3 separate regions of the Homo sapiens genome follow, and all the other regions are linked to region 3. Evidence: promoter capture Hi-C in 16 types of primary human blood cells and fetal thymus (Javierre and others, 2016). All regions are on one chromosome and are shown on one strand. The core of a region is centred on a gene start or on the middle of the fragment in contact, and the rest is flanking DNA. Distances in the headings are between cores, read along the strand shown.

The links. Contacts are between HindIII fragments. The CHiCAGO score rates a contact against its expected background, and 5 or more counts as called.
Region 1: a contact is called between a fragment that was not itself captured here and the fragment with the promoter of XIRP1 in region 3, in 2 of 17 cell types (fetal thymus and activated CD4 T cells). The highest score is 6.1, in fetal thymus.
Region 2: a contact is called between a fragment that was not itself captured here and the fragment with the promoter of XIRP1 in region 3, in 1 of 17 cell types (fetal thymus). The highest score is 6.3, in fetal thymus.

Annotation. Positions count from the first base shown.
Region 1 is chr3:39,395,802-39,398,675 of GRCh38, forward strand. It overlaps SLC25A38 (solute carrier family 25 member 38), which reads left to right. Exons shown (of 7, transcript NM_017875.4): 7 at 597-1,550. The coding sequence ends at 719. Among named protein-coding and RNA genes, the nearest start is that of RPSA, 9.5 kb to the right of the region's middle. The HindIII fragment of the contact is 4,026 bases long and covers 1-2,874 here.
Region 2 is chr3:39,343,144-39,346,128 of GRCh38, forward strand. No RefSeq gene overlaps it. Among named protein-coding and RNA genes, the nearest start is that of CCR8, 15 kb to the left of the region's middle. The HindIII fragment of the contact is 3,394 bases long and covers 1-2,985 here.
Region 3 is chr3:39,191,185-39,194,007 of GRCh38, forward strand. XIRP1 (xin actin binding repeat containing 1) reads right to left here and starts at 1,411. Exons shown (of 2, transcript NM_194293.4): 1 at 1,262-1,411. RefSeq lists an enhancer at 182-1,171. The HindIII fragment of the contact is 686 bases long and covers 916-1,601 here.

The sequences.
Region 1 (2,874 bases), core at 196-2,695, 200 kb after region 3:
CTGTACAGTATACAAACTGCACAAGTACACAGCAACCCTGCATAAAGACTTTCAGCTAAGAAATCCCCCTAGATAGAGCAGCCTAAAAAGGTAAGCCCAGCAACTACAAAAAAAAAAAATGGTTTTTGGCCAAGCGCGGTAGCTCACGCCTGTAATCCCAGCACTTTGGGAGGTTGAGGTGGGCAGATCACAAGGTCAGGAGTTCGAGACCAGCCTGGCCAATATGGTGAAAACCCCATCTCAACTAAAAATACGAAAATTAGCCGGGCGTGGTGGTGGGCGCCTGTAGTCCCACCTACTCGGAAGGCTGAGGCAGGAGAATCGCTTGAACCCAGGAGGCAGAGGTTGCAGTGAGCCGAGATCGCGCCACTGCACTATAGCCTGGGCGACAGAGCCAGACTCTGCCTCGGAAAAAAAAAAAATTTTTTTTAAGTTCTTTGGTTGTCTCCTTGGACCCATTATTCTTACTTTGGGCATAAAGTTTAGAAACTAAGTCTTAAACATGGGATAACAGAGACCCTCACTGTGGTACCAAGTGGATAATTAATTGTATTGCTACTTTGCTTCCAGAGTTCTGACATTTATTTTCACCATAGGACTATGGACTACGTGGCTTCTTCCAAGGTGGCATCCCCCGAGCCCTCCGCAGAACTCTAATGGCAGCAATGGCGTGGACGGTGTATGAAGAGATGATGGCCAAGATGGGCCTGAAGTCCTGACCAAGAGAGGACTGGGAACGGGTGAAATCTGTTGCCCTGCTTGGTTTCTGCCAAGGGCTGCTGCTTCTTACTATTCTGCAGTAAGATGAAGTCCTACCTGGAAAACCAGGCAGAAATTGTGTTGCCTTTGCCTTCAGTAATCCCCTTAAGGAGAAAATATATGGACCTGATTTCAGCCTTCAGAATCTCCAAAAGAGGAGTCATCAATTCATAGAGCACACTAGGGTGTTAGGAGAGAGCTTTGCATACTCTGAGAGGCTACTTGGAAAGGCATTTTCCCAGGAGAGCTCTGTCAGGTGGCTGCGCTTCAGCCCCACCCCTACACCACAGGGTCTCCTTGGGTATGTTCTTGGGCAAGCAATCACAAAGCCAGAGAAGCTGTAAGCTGCCTGCCGGGCCTGAGGAGCTCCAACCAGGGAAGACTGGATGTGAGGAGAGGAGTCACTGTCACCAGGTCACAGACTGACTGAGGTGATGGTAGGATGAGGAGGAACAGATGCCCTTCTTTAATTGGTTCTCAGTTAACTTCTCAGAGGCTCTGGAGAACGGGACAGTGGCTTTCTAGCCTCTGAATGTTCCAAATAAAATTTTTTGGTCTTGGCCCCTGTACTGTTTTACCTCTAAATTCTGGCATTTTTTTTTCCCTGCAATTAAAGTGCTGTACTTTATTTATTGAACTTTATCATTGAAAGCTGTTTGGAAAACCTAAAAGATGTTGTCACACTTCTGTTTTCTTTACCTGTGCCTTATAAAAATGGACCAAACCCTTTTCTAAAATAAAATAGTTCTAGGGTGGCTGGTTATTGACCTATGTAGGTCCCTAAAACCTAATTTCTGTTCAAAAAAGCAGCTTTACTGAATGATGCAACCATCACTATAAATCAGTTTAAGAACATTTTTATTCCCCAAACAGATCTCTCATGCCTTTTGTAATTAATCCTCATTCTCAGCCCCAGGCCACCACTGATAGGCTTTCTGTCTTCATAAATTTGCCTTTTCTGGATACTTCATATAAATGCAGTCTGTAGGCCGGGTGCGGTGGCTCAAGCCTGTAACCCCAGCACTTTGGGAGACCGAAGCGGGTGGATCACATGAGGTCAGGAGTTCAAGAGCAGCCTGGCCAACATGGTGAAACCCCGTCTCTACTAAAAATACAAACATTAGCTGGGCGTGGTGGCATGTGCCTGTAATCCCAGCTACTTGGGAGGCTGAGGCACGAGAATCACTTGAACCGAGGAGGCAGAGGTTAAAGTGAGCTGAAATCATGCCACTGCACTCCAGCCTGGGTGACAGAGTGAGACCCTGTCTCAAAAAACAAAAAAACAAAGTGACTATACCATTTTCCATTCTCAGCCACAGTATATGAGAGTTCCAATTTCTCCACATCCTTGTCAACACTTGTTATTATCTCTTTTATAGCTATTCTTATTGTGCACTCAAATCTTTTCTTGAAAATTCAGGAAAGATGGCCAGGCAAGGTGGCTCCTGCCTGTAATTCCAGCATTTTGGGAGGGTGAGGCAGGCAGATTACTTGAGGCCAGGAGTTCAAGATCAGCCTGGCCAAAACAGCAAAACCCCATCTCTACTAAAAATACAAAAATTAGCCAGGCATCGTGGGGCACGCCTGTAATTCTAGCTACTCAGGAGGCTGAGGCAGGAGAACCACTTGAACCCAGGAGATGCAGGTTGCAGATCACACCACTGCCCTCCAGTCTGGATGACAGAATGAGACTCCATATCAGAAAAAAAAAAATCAGGAAACAGCCATTACTTTATACAAGAAGCACAAGTTGGGGGGATATTTAGTCTTGTGGTTAAGAACATGGGCTCTAATCCAGGCAGCCCAGGTTGAAAGCTGCTTGCTCTCCACTACCTAGGCATGGCACTGAAACTATGCCTAGGAAATGGGGTTAGTTTGTTTTGGGGGTTTTTTAGGGGGCGGAGAACAAAGTGTCGCCCTGTTGCCCAGGCTGGAGTGCAATCGTGCAATCTCAGCTGACTGCAACCTCCACTCCTGGGTTCAAGCAATTCTCCCACCTCAGCCTTCCAAGTAGCTGGGACTACACGCTGGGCTAATTTTTTGTATTTTTAGTAGAGACAGGGTTTCACCATGCTGGCCAGGCTTGTCTTGAACTCTTGATCTCAAGTGATCCAC
Region 2 (2,985 bases), core at 182-2,681, 150 kb after region 3:
GGGGACTGCCTCTCTTGCCTCCTTCAAAGGGTGGCCTGCATCGCATGATCAACAAACATGAAGGTATAAAGTCCCAGCTCCTCATTGCAACTTGGAATTGCTTTGAAGGATAGGGTCAGCTGAAGTTCCTGTTGAGACTACAGTGCAGCTCTCCCTCTGCTCAGTCCTGCTTTCTTCCCTTCCCCTCCTTTCCCAGGTGTTGATTGCAAAAGTACTTTCAAAGAAACTTCCTGCACACTAGTCTCCATCTCAGAATCTGCTTCTTTGGATATCCAACCTGTCACAGACAAAAGTAGATAAGCAGGCCTTGGAATGGGAGAAGAGTGTGAGTGTGTGTGTGTGTGTTTGTGTGTGTGTGTGTGTGTAGAAAACAGGAGGGATTGATTCATAGTTGAGTCATTTGTTCTTGATTATAGCACTCAACCTGCAAATTACATTCACCTCTTGGTAACAAAGGGGAAACTTCCTCTTCCCTGAGCCATTTCACTCAGATGGAATTATTCCTGGGTAATCCTTATCTATATATCTGCCAGCAATTGCCCCTTTCCTTTCCCATAGTAATATGTAAACTCTTTCTTATCAAGAATAACTGGAGAATGATGTCTTTAGTTCAGTTGCATAGCCATATACAATAGAGAACCTCTGACTTTTCAATGGATTTGATATATTCTGAAATCCAGATCAATATCTCACTTTATTTAACTTGTCTTTGATGATCCCAAAGGCATTTGAGAACATTATCTGGCAGTGTCTCAGAGTTACTGATTTTCTCTAGATAGTATTAAAATTTATAGGTTTGTTAAGTCTGTCCTAACCCTGGGTGTTCATTCTGAAAATAATTTATTTGAATCAGCAGGTTTTGATACATTTTTCTCTATGCCATTCTGTAGTCTCAAAATGAACAAAACAGGAAGATTCCTTTTGCTCATCCATAGTTTCTGAATTGTCAGTAATAAAAATGTATTACTTTTGTAAGGAAAGTTATAAAATTCTAACAAAAAATTAAAAGTAAAATATAGGGTGTTTAGATCTCAAGTAAGCAGGAGCTTTAAGACATAGTTCTGTTTGACCCCATGTCTTTAAGTGGTGATGCAGGGTGGCCTGGGTGGATGCTGTGCATGCAGTGGGCATGCATTACAATCGAGGAACCTCATGCTTTGGAAACCCAATCTTTTAAAGGAACTGCTAGCAAACTTGTCCTGGAGGGAGACATTATTTTCCTGACAGCAGAGAAATCTATCCTCACTCCAAAAAGGGACAGTATCTTACAAGATATTTTGCTATACAAAAAGCCAAGAAAAGTTAGTCCAGAACAAAAGCTGTCAATGCCTTCACTCAGAAGATGGGTAGAAACATTAGAGACTCATTGAGACTTGATTCCCAGGAGGCATACATGTCTAAACTAAATAAAGACCTTCTACATACTAATATGAAAAAGACAGATAATCAGTAGAAGGATGGGCAGGGAATATCAGCAGACAATTTTTGAAAGAGGAAGTCTAAATGGTCAAAAAGTGAAAGAATACATGCTCAACTTCACTAATAACTAGGGAAATACACATTAAAGCCATGATAAAATATCACTATAAACCCATCAGAATGGCTAAAACTTAAAAACTAACAATATTAAGTGTTGGAAAGGATATGGAAGAAGGGAACACTTATACACTGCTGGTGAGACTAAGTGATCCAATCACTTTAGAAAACTGTTTGGCATTATTTACAACACTTGAAGATACACATGTCCTATGACCTACCAATTCCAATCTTAGGTATAAATCCAATAAAAATGCATGCATATGTGCACCAAGAATGCTTATAGGGACATGATTCATAACAGCTCTTTTATGGGTTGAATTGTACCCCCCCAAAAAAGAAAATATGATGAAATCTTATTCCCTGGTATTTCAGAATGTGATCTTATTTGGAAATGGGATGTTTGCAAATCTAACCAAGTTAAGATGAGGCCATTAGGGTAGACCCCAGTCCAATATGACTAGTGTCCTTATAAAAAGTGAAAATGTGTACACAGGCACACACAGAGGGAAGATGATGTAAAGCCACACAGGCAGAATACATGTAACAAGGATGGCAGAGATTTGAGTTATGCAGCTGGCAGCCAAGGAACACCAAGCATTGCCAGCAAACCACCAGAAGCTAGGAAGAGTCAAGGAAAGATTCCCCTACAGGCTTCAGAGAGAATGTGGTCCTGCTAATACCTTGACTTCAGACTTCTAGCCTCTAGAACTTTGAAACAATACATTTCTATTGTTCTAAGTCACCTGATATGTGGTACTTTGTTACAGCATCCATAGAAAACTAATGTAAGCCCCAAAATGGAAATAATATCTATCAATATCACATCAATAGTAGGAAGGCTAACTTCAATCAGAAATAACAATTTCTGAAATAACAATAGATAGAAATAGCTATTTAAAAATCACAGTTATGGCCTGGGAATGGTGGCTTATGCCCATAATCCTAGCACTTTGGGAGGCCAAAGCAGGAGGATAACTTGAGGCCAGGAATTTGAGACCAGCTTGGGCAATATAATGACACCCTGTCTCTAGAAAATAAAAAATAGGCTGGTTGCAGTGGCTCACACCTGTAATCCCAGCACTTTGGGAGGCCAAGGCAGTCAGATCACTTGAGGTCAGGAGTTTGAGACCAGCCTGGCCAACATGGCAAAACCCCATCTCTACTAAAAATACAAAAATTAGCCAGGTATGGTGGAGCATGCACCTGCAATCCCAGCTACTCAGGAGGCTGATGTAGGAGGATTGCTTGAACCTAGGAGGTGGAGGCTGCAGTGAGCTGAATGAATAAAGAAATAATAAAATAAAAAATAAAAAATTGCACCTACACAAAAAATCATGAATGCATCTGACAAATAAGATGTTTACCATAAGAAGCCAGACACAAAAAGAAACATATTATATGATTTCATTTATATGAAGTTTAAAAGGTGGGCAACTAAACTATAAT
Region 3 (2,823 bases), core at 161-2,660:
CTCTGAAACCTGCAGCCTGAGTCTCATCAAAGCTCTGGGTGGTTTTCTTTCATTTCTGAGCTCCAATGAGGATCCCCTGCCCAAGGCAAACCTGAGCCTGTCTCCACCTCTACTCCATCCTGTCACCACCAGGGTGGCCTGAGCAGATGGTGTGTGCACACCATCAGCTTCACCCCACCCCCGCCCCCAGGAATTTCCAGAATCTCTGCTAAGGCCACAGACAGTTATTATCATGGAGTCCAGGGATGTCAGGCCTAAGGACCCTCAGAGGTCACTCAATCTAAACCCCTTATTGTTCAAATAGGGAAACAGAGGCCCAAAGAGGGGAAAGGAGCTGTCCAAGGAGGCTCAGCAAGGCAGTAGCAAAGCCTGAAGCATGTCTCCTGACTCCTGGCCTTCCCACCACCATCTTTGCCTGGCTTGAGACTGCTGGGACAAGTGTAGAGTCAGGACAGAATTCATAACTGGGACCAGACTTACGTGGGGTGAGCCCCAAGAACTGTCCTAGAGCTTGGTCTCCTAGGGCTGGGCCAGCCTCTCAGGATGGTCCCCCTGCTGTCCTCGGGTCACCTCCTCCTTGGCCCAGCTGGCTCCATATGTCTTTACATCTGGGCAAATTCAGATCTGGTCTCCCTCCCGTGAGCCCCCCAAATCTGCCCTGGGGGCTTTCCCACTGGGCAAGACTATGGACATGGGCAGAGTCCGAATTCCACCCCAGGTTTTAGGCTATGATATGTAGGGAGCTGGGCTCCGGCCAGCCCCTGGGAGCTATCCCTGGGCCAGATATGCCAAGAGTGTCATCCACAACAACTAGGCATGGGGCTTGTTCTAGCAATGCACACTCAGGCCTACTTACAGCCCCCTGCCCCCACCTCTCTCCTGTTCCTCCTTCCTCCAGATCCTGGGCCTGCCTGAAGCTTCCCTGGGAGGAAGCCCTGAAGCCTGAGGCACTCCATACCTGTATTTTAAAAATCACAACTCCAGGCCTTTCTGGATCATGCCAGCCTGGCAGGAGCCTATCCTTTCTGCTAGCTTCAGGCCTGTGGCAGCCACTCTGAGAGCTCCCATGGGGCTCACACTGTCTTTACCTCCTTTGTGGGTTCTTTATGTCTGAGACTTCCACTCACCTCCTCCCATGCATGCCCCTCAATCTCCTTCCCCTACTCAGAGCCATTCCTAATACGTCCATTTCAGAAGGAGAGGGGATCCCAGCTGTGAAAGCCAGCCTTGCTGTGGAAGGATGGAGAGGTAGGTTACTCACCAAGGGTCTCTCTTGGCTGATGGGGTGTTTGTGGTCTGTAGCAGCTGTGGTCTCAGGGTTCGTCGTTCCTCTGGAGGTTCTTGTTCAAATTGGTTCTGTTCTGCTGGCTCCAACAGACACCTTCTTGCTGCCCTGGCTCCAGGTCTCTGTCCCCTGCCAGCCCCAGCAGCTGCCTTTATCTTGCTGGCTAGTGGGTGGGCCGTGGTGGGGGCGGGTGGGAGAGGCTATGTTCCGAGTATTAAGTGGTTCGGTTATTTTTAGGTCTTGTGGAAGTCACTCTTCCATCCTGGGGAATCAGTTACATGTCCTTTGGGCTGGGGAGGGGAAACAGAGGGGGAGAAGCTTCATTCATCCAAAGTCTGATCTGGGGATTGGGGTCAGTGACTCAGCTGGGTTGTGAGGTTGGGGGTGTCCCAGACTATTTTGAGAGAGTGACTAAGAAGAGGCATCTGACACCTTGGACAGCTTGCTCCCGTCTTGTGAGCCCCCATCATTCTACTCTGGCCCTGCCTCTGACTCTTCCTGACGTGTCTCCACCCACCGTGCCAGGAGACTGGAGGTCTCCTGAGGGCAGGCTGGGCACCTCCTCCTCTGTTCTGAGCCTGGATACCTCTGAGTGTGATGCTCAGCTCTCTTTCTTCCCCATTCCCTTCTGCACTAAAGAGTTCCTTCTTTCTTATCCATTCCACCCTGTGCCCCACAGCACAGGTCAACACAGCCCCGATGAAGCTGGATTTGGGGGGAAGACATCTGAATGACCAGGCCCAGCTCTTCACTGGGCCGAGATTGGCCAGGCCCAGCTCCTCCTTTGCACCACTACACCCAGTTAATTTTTGTATTTTTAGTAGAGATGGGGTTTCACCATGTTGGCCAGGCTGGTCTCGAACTCCTGACCTCAGGTAATCCACCTGCCTCGGCCTCCCAATGAATGAATTCCACAGCAGGACTCTATGGTTTTCATTCCAGATTATCTGAGTCCTTTCTTCTCGACTCTTCCCTCTGACTCAGGGCCCAGGCTTTCTGGGAATGGAGGGGAGGGGAAGGGCGGCATGCAGGGAGCTGACCGTGGGGTTATTTCTGACCCTGGAGTCATCAGCTTCCCAGTCACAGATGGAGTGGCGGCGGGGGTGGGGGGGTCACACCTGCCTCCTCCTTTGCTTACCAGGGCGTGAGGGGCCCAGGAGGCCCAAGAGATCCTGGCAGTCAGACCAGTGTGGTGAAGGATGTCAGGGGACCATCTGCAAAAAACTCGAAAGAGGTGTTTTGTCCTAGGTGGGCCTGGCCCAGGCTCCATGCCTGTGGGTATGCAGGTGCATTCTGTGGCCTGGCACATGAGGTCTTCCTTCTGACTCCCCAAATGCCCTCTGGTACCAGGGGGTGATGCCAGACATTGCTCACTTTTTCCATGTAGTCAATGTCAGTCCTGCAGCGTCAGCTGGGATGGGGGTAAGGACATCTGGGAACCCCCTCTTCCTGGTCTCCCTCCCTCTTGTCTCTTCCCCTGCTCTTTTCTAGCCCTCTGCCTGTCCCCCAGGCTCCTGGCTCTCTCTAGGAAGGGCAGG